Regions from separate parts of the Homo sapiens genome. Here region 1 is linked to region 2. Evidence: promoter capture Hi-C in 16 types of primary human blood cells and fetal thymus (Javierre and others, 2016). All regions are on one chromosome and are shown on one strand. The core of a region is centred on a gene start or on the middle of the fragment in contact, and the rest is flanking DNA. Distances in the headings are between cores, read along the strand shown. Region 1 has its middle 190 kb from the start of ATP5MC3. Region 2 holds the start of LINC01116 (long intergenic non-protein coding RNA 1116).

Region 1 (6,567 bases), core at 768-3,267, 1.3 Mb before region 2:
TATGAACTCATTTATGTTAGAAGAACCCCCAGTAATTTCTCTGCAACTCATTGGTTTTTCAGAGAAAAAAGTTTTCAAAGCAATGCTATGGAATATACTTGCAAGTATATTAAACCTGCCTTAGTAAAGGCAGATGTTTTCAATGATCCAATTGCTTATTTAACAAATTGATATTGAGTGCCTACTGTGTGCTCCTCACCAGGGCAGGTGCAGAGGAAACAATGAAAAATGTGACATGCTTGGTCTCTGCCCTTGGTCCTGTGCTCACTCTTGAGAAATTTAATATATGCAAAGAAATACATTTAAAGTAAAAAAAACCACACACACAAATATATTGATCATGAGCACTGAAGGCAAAAAATAATTAGCATTACTCAAGTAATTTATGATCCTAATGGGCACTGAGCCATGTGCTGCAGGCCTTAAGTCATTCAGTAACAGAGTCTTTCTGAGCTCTGGTTCTATAAAAAGCACCATGTCACATACTGTTGGCAATTGTCAAGAAAATTAAAGACATTAAGCCCTTGAACCTTATACTTGTATTTTTTTTCCTCAAGAATGCAAGATGGAATATATATCTCAGAAAAACTGTAATCAGTTTGAGACATATGATATGTATACTTAGGCTTCATTTCCTCATTTTGCATTATAGATGTTTTGCTGAGCTGTTGACTGTAAGTGGAATCATTTGAAATGCGTGATTTCAAGGAACCCTGCCGTGATTTCTTTTACTAAGCAGAGGAGAACCTTTTTAACATGGATAAATTACTGTAAATGTTCTTTCCTCTAAATCTGATTTGGTAAATTGGGTGTTTCCTGAGCAGGCCTAAATGGACAAATGTGTGCATATGCATGTATAACGTACCTTAGTCAATCTGTGTAATCAGAGGCAGGAATTGTGGGTTGACCTTGCCAGGGAATTTTTAAGCAGAACTGACTGCAGCCAGTGGTCAGCGAGGGCCACTTCTTCCTAGACTTTGCATAACTCCAAACAGCCACAAGCCAAGGACAGTCATTCTGAGTAAGCAGGAATGGAGAGAAGGAAATCAATATTATCATCAGTGTTGTTTAACATTTCTTTGTTAAGCTTCACAGCCTAACAAATATTTTACAACTCGTTTGTTCCCTAGTCTGGTTAACCAAGAAAAAAATCCGGAAGGAAACGAGCTCTGTTCTCAAGCTTCTGGGAGGGAACTTACTGTTCTCTTTAACCAGTTAAAGGCCATTAAAAGCGTGTGGTTTTCCTTTAAGGCTCTTACTTAAATAGACAAAATTCAGGACATTTTTACTGGAGGTACCCCTTACTTCTTTCATTTATGTGTAGATGGCACAAATATCATCCCTGTGGCAAGGGCTGTAGCTGGATAGAAGAATGGCATATTTTGAAATGGAAAGACAGGTTGATAGCTAGGGAGATGTCTCTCCAGCCTCTTGGCCCTTACCTGCAGCTCCTTCCCACATGGGGGCAGAGATCAATGGGGCCAAGAGCAAGTCATCTGGCAGAGTAGGGACTCCCCAGGACACTCCCAGCCATTCTTCCCAGTGTATATCATATGAATGGACAAAAGGAGGTCGCAGGTGACATTGGCCTCCAAAAGTGCAAATGCAGCTTGTTCTGTAGAGAGGTATAGCTCAGTGGTAAGTTGCAAAAAAAAAAAAAAAAAAAAAAAAAAAGCATAAAATAACTCTTTCTTAAGTCAGACGCCTTGAAGTCAAACATACTGGAAGTCAGTGTACCTTAGTAAAGAGAGACCCAGTTTCAGCTTGTCTGTAAAAGGGCTCTCATGGACATTTATTTATTTATTTACTTATTTATTTTCGAGATGGAGTCTCGCTCTGTCACCCACGTTGGAGTGTAGTGGTGTGATTTCGGCTTACTGCAATCTCCGCCTTCTGGGTTCAAGCGATTCTCCTGCCTCAGACTTCAGTAGCTGGGATTACAGGCGCGTGCCACCACCCTGGCTAATTTTTGTATTTTTAGTAGAGACAGGGTTTTACCATGTTGGCCAGGCTGACAGGGACTTTTAGAGGGCCCTTTTCTGGAGTATTCAAAGTTGCATTTAATTCTCTGTTGAGTGAACCTGAGAATCTTGACAGTTTCCTTAGAAGGGGCACTTTGCATTTCTCTGGAAGAGCCTTTCTGGTTCTTCATCTTATTGGGGTTGCCATGAAAGTAGGGCATACTGGAAATCTAATGCTCAGAAATTTAGCTCCACTCTCACCATTTTCTTTAAGAATAGAAAGTTCTGCCAACTAGAAGCAAGGGTAATATAAAAGTTATTGTGGGTAGAAACTGAGGAAATGTACCAGGCAATAGTCTTATAATAAATGAACTTAAGGAAGAGAAAGTCGACTCTACAGTAAATGATAACAGAAAGAGCACAGTCTTTAGAATCTGACACACTGACTTTGAATATCTGCTTTGTCAATTAACTTTGTGACCACAGGTAAAGTTATTTAACTTCCCAGGACCTTATTTTCATGAGATTGCTCTGAATTTTTATTGAGAATACACATATTAAGCACTTAAAACACTGGCAGGCATAAGACTAATTGCTCAAGATATATTGGTTTTCCCTTCCTTTACCTTCTTTTTGGTTTTTGGCTAAATTTGAATACTCCTTCTGTTTTAATATTTTAAGATAAAATGTCTGCAAAGAAGACACAATTATAATTAGCAAGGATAAAATAAACTAAAGCTAAGGAGATAATGTTTAATTTTATTTGTACATAAGGGTATATAATAGTAAGTATATGGAAATTGTACTTTCCCCATTTCCTCTTGCCAAGATGTATAAAATGGAGTTGTCATTTATAAGCAGTAATGGACAATGTAAAACACTAGTGTCATCCTAAAGCTTTGCTTTCAGTAAGCCTTACTAGTATTTAGAATTTTACTCTACAATGTGATGGTGGTTAACGTGCTAATCATGAGAAACCATTAAAATCCCTATGATTCAACGCATCGCACACTCTATTTCCAAACCGATTTGAGCTGGGTTAAATCTGAAACAAAATGTTAAATGTGAAACAAAACTAGTGTGTGGCAAGCAATAGTTTCTTCTAAGCCCCAATAACTCAAATATTTTTCATTAAAATACACACCAACCAAAAGAGACCTAGACCTGATGCCTGGAAAATGCATTTATTTTTTCCTTTTTTATTTTTAAACAAAGCAAGGAGTTGAAAACGTCAGAAATAATGAAACCAGCATATTTTTATTACTCTGTTCTTACAAGAACTTATTTTTAATGAAATTTAGTTTAAAACAAAAAATCTTGTTCCTAGGTTGAATTTTTTTGCGTGGCACATTCCAGCCTGGGGCTATCTTTTATTGGCTAAGTTATAAATCCCAGAAAAGGGGGTTTTATAGTGGAAATGCTGACAGAACCCGCATAGTGCTACTGGGTGCCTCTCTAATTAGTCTGAAATCCTGAAAGCTGAATTCCATAATATGTGGCCTGTACTGTAGCAAGACTACAGTGTGGCCAAACCCCCAAGCTTAACTGGGCATTTCATGTGCAATCAGGGTTTCATATAGACTATGGTGGAGCCTTTTACAGTTGTAAAATGCTAGTACTTTTAAGGGAGAGAAAGCTTTATTGGTCCTCTTACTTATTTGAATGTGAAAGAGAGTTGTTTGGATATTTTTTTGATAATCTAGGAATCCCTGGCATGAGTGCCCCACTTTGCAGACAATGAGTTTCCACCTGGGCCTGGACACTCGGATTTCTAGAGATTCATTTTAGCATCCATTTAAACGGCTTCCATAAAACCAACTTTCATTTGTGCTCAAGTGCTTGATACTAATGTTGACAGAGAAACATCCCACCAGGGAACTGAAGTGAGTGAAAGACAGGACATGTAGCTTTACACACACACACACACACACACACACACACACACACACACACACACACACACACACACACAGCTTTCCTGTTTGGTTTGCCCTCTTTGTCCTGCCTCTAGCCTGACTTGCCTGGTCTAGGCCCTCACTTGCCTGGAATGATTATAGGCTCTCACACTTGCCGGGTGCAGACCTGATAGGGCCAATGTCTCTTGCAGCTGCAGAGCCCAGTCAAAAGATCACTGAGCTTCAGTGCTGGCCTAGAAATAAGCTGGGAAAGCTCTCTCCTCAGGACCTTATAAGAAAGAAGAAAAGAAAAGAAGAGAAGAGAAGGGGAAGGGGAAGGGGGGAAGGAAGGAAGGAAGGATGGAAGGAAGGAAGGAAACGAAAAGAAAAGAAAAGACAAAAATACCAGATTCAGTTTACAAACGGACCCCATGTCAGACAGGCCCACAGCTTATGAAATTGCCCTTCCCTTGCTCCACTCTGATCTTGATTTCCCTCTTATTTCCCCTTCATCTTTTTGTTGCTTGGTTTGCTTTGGCTGTGGGTTGTAAGAGGTTAGGGACACACACTGAACAACCTTTTTAAACTTCCCAATGATTGTCCAAGAGGGTCACATCCCCAAAGTAAAAAACCAGGATAACAAAATGTCAGAAAGACTAGAAGTTCCCACAAACATCCTGGACTGCAATGCTAGCACCTTTTGGCTGAAAACTCCACAGGCATAGGGTTGGTCCCACAGAAACCTGTTAGGGAATATTTTCTTGAAATTGTGGCAACCAGGTTACCTTTTTCCTGGAACTTGCCATCTCTCAGCACAATGTTTTTGGTCCAGAAATTACTGCTTAGCAATTTTCAGGGTAAGTAGTATAAAAAGACAACAGAGATCTGTGCTAGAAATGAACTCCTTATAATAATAATAATAACAGCAATAGCAAACATAGTTTCTTCCCATCTTTTTTGTCTTGCTGAAGTACACAGTGAAGTGATTAATATGTTTGTACTTAGCTAACATGAGTTCCAATATAATTTTTAAAATAAATTACATGCTAAATAAATAACTAAAAATAATGTACTGTTTATATGCATTTATAAATTGAACATTTCACAGGAGAAAAACCTTTCAGAGAAAAATCTTGAATTTGATCAGCAAAAAATGAGGTTGCCTTTTTCCCCTCCTTTTTGTTTTTTGTTTCCTTCTTCTGTGAGAGAGCTACCTTTAACATGACCCAATGATTAGTCTTACTGAGATTTAAATGAATGTAATTTGGAAAAAAACTCATCTTGGATTTCTCAAGGTCCATTTTCATTACAAATATTCTCTTAATTCTAAGACCATAGGTTAAATCATGCACTCTGCTTTGGGGTTTGGAAATACATAATCATTTGGCTCACAATTCAACAAGCTCTTCAGAAAGTAGACAATCACTTCTTCAGTGGGGTGTGGGTGTGTTGAATGTCCATATAGTGGGGAGAAAGAGAGAAAACCAAAGAACAACATCAAAATTATTTATGCAACTATATTTACCGTATTGAAAAGAAACTATTTTACGGAAGAAAGCCTTGAGTAAAAGGAGTGATGCACGATGAGTCAACTCCCTAGGATTTAGTGGATTGAACTTGCAACAATGTACCATGCAACAAAGGCCATGAAAGCTGCTGGAGCAATGGCACTCTGCGCTCCTCATTTTTTGGGAGTAAACTGCGGGTATGAACAGTTCACCCACTAAAAGCATGGACAGAAGTTGGAGAGCTGATCCTAAAGTTTGCATGAAAGATAATAAAAAATAGTCGAGGCAGATTTGAAGATGATTAAAAGGCGAAAGTTATTTTGGAATATCTTAAAGCTTTTTTATAAAGGTACAGTAATTAAGACATTTGAGTATTGGTTAAAAGGCAGAACAATAGACCAGTGAAAGAACAGAGAGCCCCAAAACAGACACTCTGCAGAGCACTGGACACTCTGCAGAGATAGCATGAGATTTCAGTGGATTCATAATTTAAAAAATATTGTTGGGCCAAGTGGGTATCTATGTAAACGTGGAGATTACTTGTCTCATACCATATGCAGAAGTACATTTCAGTTGTGTAAAAAAGAAAAATTTTTAAACTTTTAGAATTAAATTTTTTAACTTTCAGAATTTTTTATATACATTTTAATGTATGTAGAAAATGTCTATATAAAAATGGGAAGGAAAAGGATATGTTAAATAAAAGATACAAACCATATTGGAAAATATTGATGAATTAAACTAAATTAAATGCAAACTGGGAAACAAGCTGCAGACAGGGAGAAGATATTATATTTGCAATATATATAAATGATCAAAAATATTAAACTGTGTGTATGTATGTGTGTGTACACACACACACTTATTTATTAGTGCTGGTAGTATAAATCATCCAAACCCTTTGGAAAAAATCTGGCAATATCTAATATGGTTGAAGTTGAGCATACCTATAACACAGCAATTCCTAGTCTAGGTGTATATAATAAAGAGACATTTGTTCATGTGTACAAGGAGTCCTGTTTAAGGCTATTCACTGCAGTATTGAAATGGTAAAAAATTGGAAACAACATAAATGTCTGTCAAGTATGAAACAGAAATATAAATTGTAAAATCATAAAATGAAACAATACTATACAGTGGTTAAAATGAATGAATTAGATCTACATGTATTTCCATGGATACATTTCAGAAACATGTAGTTGA
Region 2 (6,912 bases), core at 740-3,239:
CCAACAAGACACATGTTCAAATTTATCCCCTGTATATAAAAAGATTAGTATAAAATATTTCTCAATTGTTTATGCAGAAAGTAGTAGGGAACAAATTCCAATAATTTTTATCACATAGCTGATATAGCTAAATATTTGGAACCTTTAAAAGAAAAGTGCTAATTAAAATACATATAAATTTTTCAAAGTTTAAAAAGCAGTTGGAAAAATACTTCTACCACTTAGAACACAATTACCTGCACAGCTTAATAGTCTTATGGATTTCAGTAGTAAAATATGTTTAGAAACATCTTGTCTTTTCCATTCCCTCAAACACACAGTGGGCTGAGAATATAACTCTTCATAATATATTAAAAAGTATCCACCATCTTGAGAAAACTATATATTATGGTAATAATTTTTACATCTGATTATGCCATTTTTAGACTATGGAATATAGTTTCTGAATTCTTTTGGGGGGAGGGAAATGGTGTGGAAAAACTACTTTTAAAACGTGCTTCTATCTTCATTTAAAATGTATAAATTCTCAAGTTTCTTAACAAAAAACTTTGATCCCACTATTTTATATAGACTGCATTTATAGGCTTGGAAATCCTGTTCTCTCTATTAAACTCCTTAGACAGGATTATATTAATCTTACTTAAAAGAAAAAACTACTTACAGCAAACATGGCACTCAAAAGAATTAAAAATAATACTTGCAATATTTTAATATTTATGAAAATCTGTTTTTTGAAAGACAGATGAACTTAGAAATGTGAACACACAAAAAAATACAAGTATAAAGTTTCCTTTCGAAACTTTTCCTTTCAAAGAAATATTTATCCCACATTTCTACATGCAAAACTTTTAGTGTAAACTATTGAGAAAATCCTAAATAGTAAAACATTTGTTTCTGTAAGTCCATAAGCACTTGCTGTACATACTCAGAGGCAGCCCTGGCCCACTGTATCCGCAAATGCATCTGCAGGGGGAATGGTTCCAAGCCAGTCACTGAGTGTCATCTGTCCCTTCTCCAGGGGCAGGGACATTGAGTCACAATGAAATTTTATTATTTATATACATTATTTTAAATTCTGTTTTTCTTAGAGCTCAAAGCTTTGACAGTAAATGTCAAACCACACTGAAGTTGACTTGTTAGCTTTTGTAGCTAGCCTTACTGCTGTCGGCTATTTCAAATTGCAAATGACAATAAACAGGTGGTTTTTTCTTTTAATCACTAAAGAACATCCCTTTTCATATAGCTAATATAACAAAAAAGTCTAAAACATGGGCATATAATTCCCACTGTAAATTAATTATAATTATTTCAGGCTTAAGTATTAATAGTAAGTGAATTCTTTTCAAGAGATCCTTGGCGGTTCCATTTGCCCTTGAACATTAACCCTGCCACCTCAAAACTCAATGCCTTTGCACTTAGTCTAGAAAATTAAAAATACAACTCGTCCTCATCCTAGTAACCTGCGCAAGTCTCTACAAGAGACTGGAGGATCTACGTGGTAACTAACTTTAACTTACCTCTTCTAGGCTTTATTAACGAGTTTATCAAAAAATATTAACTTTCAGGCAAGATGTGGCTAATTCTTAAATGCAGCTTAAAACTTTCGACATCCCCTTGTAAAAATGATGCCACGAAATGTGCCACTGTCCATTTATTTCCCATTTCACTTAACGCATTAATATTGACCCTTCGGACAGCAGCGCTGGCATCATTTTGGAGCTGCAAAGCAAGACGTGGCGCGTTGATGAGCTAAAAAGGACCCGTCTTTCTCTGGGCCCCTTACCAACATCTCTCTCCCTAGAAGACAAATACTTTTCAGATCTCGCACCCCTCTTTACAAACCTGAGCGGGGCTTTCGGGGTAAGGGGAGGCAAGACTTTGGTGGGAGCTGCTCGTCTTCAGCAAAGCGAGGGCCGGCTGCAAAGGCGCAGGCTGGCAGTTCGGGTCATTTCCTGCCGATTCCCCATTCCCCTCGGAGCAGCTTGGAGAGGAAGTCGGACTTCTTTTCCAGGCGGAGCCTCCACGATGGGCGTGGGCGCCTCGTGCGTGGGCCGGGGGCCTCGTGCGTGGGCGGGGATCGGGGCCTGGGAAAAACGGGAACCCGGTACCCGCCCGCGCCCTCGCGCGTCGGCCAGGAACCTCGGCCCCATGCGGGCGGGCCAGCGCGGCCAGGAGGGCCGGGAAGAGGGGTCCCCGGGGCCCCGGATGCGCTGAACTCCGGGGAGGGGATGGGCAGGAGAGAGAGCACACTCCTGGAGCCGCGACGTCCAAACCCGGACGCACTTGAACCCGCAGCGAGGCCCGTGGCTCGCGGCCTTCGGAGAGCACCCGCGCCCCGCGCAGACCGGACGCCGGCCTTGCCCGATCCTCGGCATCCTTCGGCGGGGCGGCCAGTCCCAGGGCGCTCGCTGAGGGCCACACCCTGGCCCCAGAGTTTAGCACCGCCGCGGGCAGGGCGCTCCGCTCCCGGACCCCGAATCTGAAAGCGGAGACCAAGGGCTGCCTGCGGCAAAGCTCGACATACACTTGATTTTCTTCCGATTTGGAGAAAATGTCACGGGCGAGAGCAAAAAAAAAAAAAAAAAAAAAAAAAAAAACCCTAACTGTAAATATTATTTGGAGGTGGGCGAGGGCGCGGCGTGCGCGCGGCGGCGGGTGGCGGGCGGCGCGGGCGCCCTTGCGGGGATTCCCGGTCTCTCAGCGCGCCCTAGTGGACGCCCTGCCTTTCGCTGGCTCCCCGTGCTCGTTACAATCTGCAATATATTATTTCTTCCGAAGTATTGACAATGTGTGAGACTCCAGTAACCCCGGAGCTCTCGTCTGTAATCAGCACATTTATCCACATTTAAGGGGGAAAATCCGAATTAAATCCCCGTGACCCTGATTGGGTTACAGTGTCATTTTCCCTGGATCCTCTTTTAAATCCACTCCACACTGCTTCTCTGTCTATTACATGCTAATTTAATTTTACTGTGGAAGATATTTTCAGGATTTGCTGAGGACAGTAAATTTTGTAGTTTATGTTATTTCACTTTTTATGACTTTTTAACACTTAATAAAATTTTATTAGAGCACTTTTGTGTTTACAAGGCCACAAAACTCTTGGCAGGTTGTCAGAAGTCCTTTTTATTATGATCCTACTGATATACTGCGAGTAATGAAATAATCATGTCCAGAAATGTATCAAAGGCCAGAGGGATTATCCCACTTAATAGCTCCACAGATGCGCCCAGAAGAATGTGGACGCGCGACAGGACGGGCTGAAAGGCTGCAGGAGGAAGCAGGCAGCCCCGGCTCCTGGCTTTACCATTTCGGTTGCTTTCCTAAAAGGCTACATGCAGGGTCATGTGACTTTCCGCGGTCTCAATAAAAAAAAAAAAAAAAAAAAAAAAAAAGAATTTATTCTATTGCAAAATGTGCTTTTCTTTTTATACTCCTTGTGTGGGCATTTAAGACTGTTCTAGTGGCAGTGGGGTTGGCTGTACATATCCATGTCAGTCACCGCGCCCGGCCCCACTTTCTTCTCATTTCTAAGTGTACTTTTGTGGCATTTAAACTGCCGATGGTGACTTTGGTGTTGAGCGGTGTTGTTTCCACAGCCCACACTGAAGGCATTGGGAGGGACCCAGGAGGGCACAAGGTGTTTTAAGGCCCTTTCCCACCTGCCAAACACCTTTTGCTGTTGCTTTTTGGTTTTATTTTGTTTTGCGAAACCGGGGAATAGTGACTTAAGGACTCGGCTTTCTGCCTTGTGCCAGAGAGCCACAGTACACTGCTTTTATTTTTATTTTTTGGTAAGACTTGGCTATAGGAAGGACTGAGAATATAGCTTTCATTTCTTTTAAAAAACATTTCCTTTTCTTTTAAATAGATACGTGATCATTTAACACACGGGTGTTAAGTTCATTCTTGCTGCAAAAGAAGGCCATTGTACCTCCTGACCCTGAAAGCAAGGTGGGTGGCTTTGTTTTATAATTAAATTTTCTGTCTTCAGCTTCATATTTCTCTTTCTCTGTTATTTCCTAAAGAGTGTGTCAAAGTGATAAAAGAGGTGAGGAATGGACTCATAAACAGAGTGATTTTGAAATTACTGTTGGTGTATCCATAGCACGTGTTCTTCTAAACTTTGGCTTTTAAGGATTTCAGCAGGGTTTTTCACAAGCAAGTGTGTGTGTGTGTTTCATGTTCCAACATATCACATTAGGATTTTGTAATCTGTCACTGTTTAAAACAGCCTCTGGGAAGCGCGCCTCTCTCTGGATTGCCTCCATCACACGTGTGTTCTCTCCCATTCAGAAATACATAAGGCTGCTCATGATGCTCTTTGATTTCAACTTCAAGGAAGCAGTTTAGTTTTTTGTATGTCGTTTGCTAACCATGGACAAAATTTAGCACCTGGTCTAATAGTCTTCTGTGTGTCTGTGATGGCCTAGATTCTGAAAAGAGCTTACGAAGGACTGCAGTCCTACCTTAAAAATAATTATGTCCTGAGATCATTTGGGCAGCCATTTATCTCCTTTTCTGGTATTTTCTATTTGCAAATATGAGTCAGTTTTTCTTTCTCTTTTTCAAATTATTTCTCTAACAGTTAAAGAACTAGGAAAGAAAGTGATGTTAGGCCCTGACTAAATATTCTTCCTTCATTCTGCTTACTACTGACGGCTTGTTTTCTTTGCCTTTTACCACATGAGACACAAGATATGAGACGGAGCAGAGAAAAAGGTTCTGATGTTAGCTCTCCAAATTCCAGAGTGTTTTGCATAAGGGAATTTATGCTCAAGTTCAGGAATCAAGAGGAACATATTAATTTTCATTCTGCTATGAAGTGACAGTTCAATTTTATGAGTAATTTGTGTCTGGGACAATTTAAATAATACTTAAAAGCCTGCAGTAGCTTTCAAGTTAAAAATCTATTGTGTTCAATTATGAAGTAAACCTCCCCAAGGCAGATCCATTTAATGCATCAAAGTATGTTTTTAACTCTTATTCAAAACTCCAAGAGATTGGCTTAAATATGGTAACTGATGGCACACAGCTGTGTTAATGGAGGGCTAACTAGTGTCCACACCGACTTCACAGTCCCTTCTCAAGTCTTCAGTGATGAAAGGAAAGAAAAGAGTGAAGCCTCAATCTTTTCATCTAGAGAATCGATCTTCAAAAACAGGAGTAAAGGAGCCACACCAGAAGCATGCAATGGTCTCCTCATAAGAAAACGTGCTGTTACAAAGCAGTAAGGTATTGGTGATACCAGGGCAGACCCTAGAACCACTTTGCTTGTTTCCAATCCAGTTCTGCTGTCTATTACTGTGTGGCCCTGGACAAGTTATATAACCTCTCTGTGATTAGTTTTTTCATCTGTAGAATGAGACTGATGCTAGTCCCCCCCTCCTAGTTTTGTTGAAAAGTTTAAAGAGTTAATTCATATGAAATGCTTAAAACAGACCCTGAGTGCTTCTTAAAACAAACTCCTGGAAGACTGACATATCCATCACCTAGCACAGTGCCTGGCACATAGTAGGTCAATCAATATTTGTTGGATGAATATTGGATGTTATTTCATTGAGTGCCCTAGTTGGTTCAGGTGTGACCCATGAAGCAATGACTGAAGCACTCTCAGCCTCAGGTGTGGACTTGACTACTGAGAGTGGGCAGCACTCCAAGAGAAGTTTTATCCAACTGCAATTTTACTTTTTCTACGGATTTCTATGTTGTCTTCTTGATTAACAATTGGGTTATAAAGCTTTTGAGAAAAGAGCATCCGAAATTTTGAGGGGTCTCTATAGCACTTACCACAGTGCTTTGTACATAAGTAATAGACAATTGGTAAGACAGTATGCCACACATATCAGAGCAGTATGCATTACAGTCTTTTATTCAATAAACGATGGTTACAGGCACTATGCGAAATCTTTTCCATACATTGTTTCATTTTATTCACACTAATTTTCATACAGGTAGTTACAATCCCTATTGTATAGGTAAGGAAAATATGAGGCTCAGAGAAGCCTAGTGACTTTCCCAAGGTCACACAGCTAGTAAATGACAGGTCTGGATGTTTAGTCCAGGTCTATGGAAATGTCAAACATATACAGTTAGCACTACCCTGCACTGCCTCCCAATCTGTTTGGCTTTAAAGAGTCCCTAATCAATCTGGTCATTTACAATTAATGTGTAAACCATAATGAAAATGGAAATGATTAAGGCTGGAACCCAGGCCTATTATTCTTGAATTAGTCTTGTGCGGTGGTTGGAATACTAGGCCCAGTGGGGTGAGACACAGGCCTGCCTCCCAGGGTCTTTCCTGTCCTCCGCTCATTCCACCACTACATGTAGATATTTGAAAAGGCCCAGAGGAAAAGTCAGGGTTACTTTTTTCCCCTCTGTGGAAAAACATGATGAAGCTGAATTTACCTCAACTAGTATTAAAACATCAAGTGAACAGATGTACATATTGATTAAAGATGAAGAAAGGAGAACTCAGACAAGTGGGTGGCAGAGCAGTTTTTCCTTTTAACCAAACGTTCTTTCTTTATGGCCTTTAAAGATATGCATTCTTCCAAGATACTTGATGGGTGTTCTGACCATTTCAGGGAATGAAGAACAGCCTGAGACCATAAGGAAAGCCTTGATTCATGTACGAGTTTCTTTAATGAGTAAGCAAGAGTCATGCAAGAGTGCTCTGCTGTAGCCATGTGATTCATTCTGTACCCCTGAAACAAATATGTACAGAACCCCAAAAGAGGAAGCTAAGGAGCCTGTGAGTTATTCTAAGGAATGTGCAACACCCCCTATTAAAAACTCCATCCTAAAACGGTGAAACCCCGTCTCTACTAAAAAAATACAAAAAATTAGCCGGGCGTAGTGGCGGGCGCCTGTAGTCCCAGCTACTTGGGAGGCTGAGGCAGGAGAATG

The links. The method cuts DNA at HindIII sites, captures the fragments that hold promoters and counts their contacts. A CHiCAGO score of 5 or more calls a contact.
Region 1: a fragment that was not itself captured here is called in contact with the fragment with the promoter of LINC01116 in region 2 in 1 of 17 cell types (M2 macrophages); the score reaches 7.3 in M2 macrophages.

What each region holds. Positions count from the first base shown.
Region 1 is chr2:175,372,468-175,379,034 of GRCh38, forward strand. No RefSeq gene overlaps it. Among named protein-coding and RNA genes, the nearest start is that of ATP5MC3, 190 kb to the left of the region's middle. The HindIII fragment of the contact is 1,678 bases long and covers 1,179-2,856 here.
Region 2 is chr2:176,635,620-176,642,531 of GRCh38, forward strand. LINC01116 (long intergenic non-protein coding RNA 1116) reads right to left here and starts at 1,990. Exons shown (of 5, transcript NR_188023.1): 1 at 1,843-1,990. LINC01117 (long intergenic non-protein coding RNA 1117) reads left to right here and starts at 2,135. Exons shown (of 4, transcript NR_110599.1): 1 at 2,135-2,389; 2 at 3,872-3,954. RefSeq lists silencers at 2,600-2,649, 6,614-6,703 and an enhancer at 2,810-3,324. The HindIII fragment of the contact is 4,643 bases long and covers 1,096-5,738 here.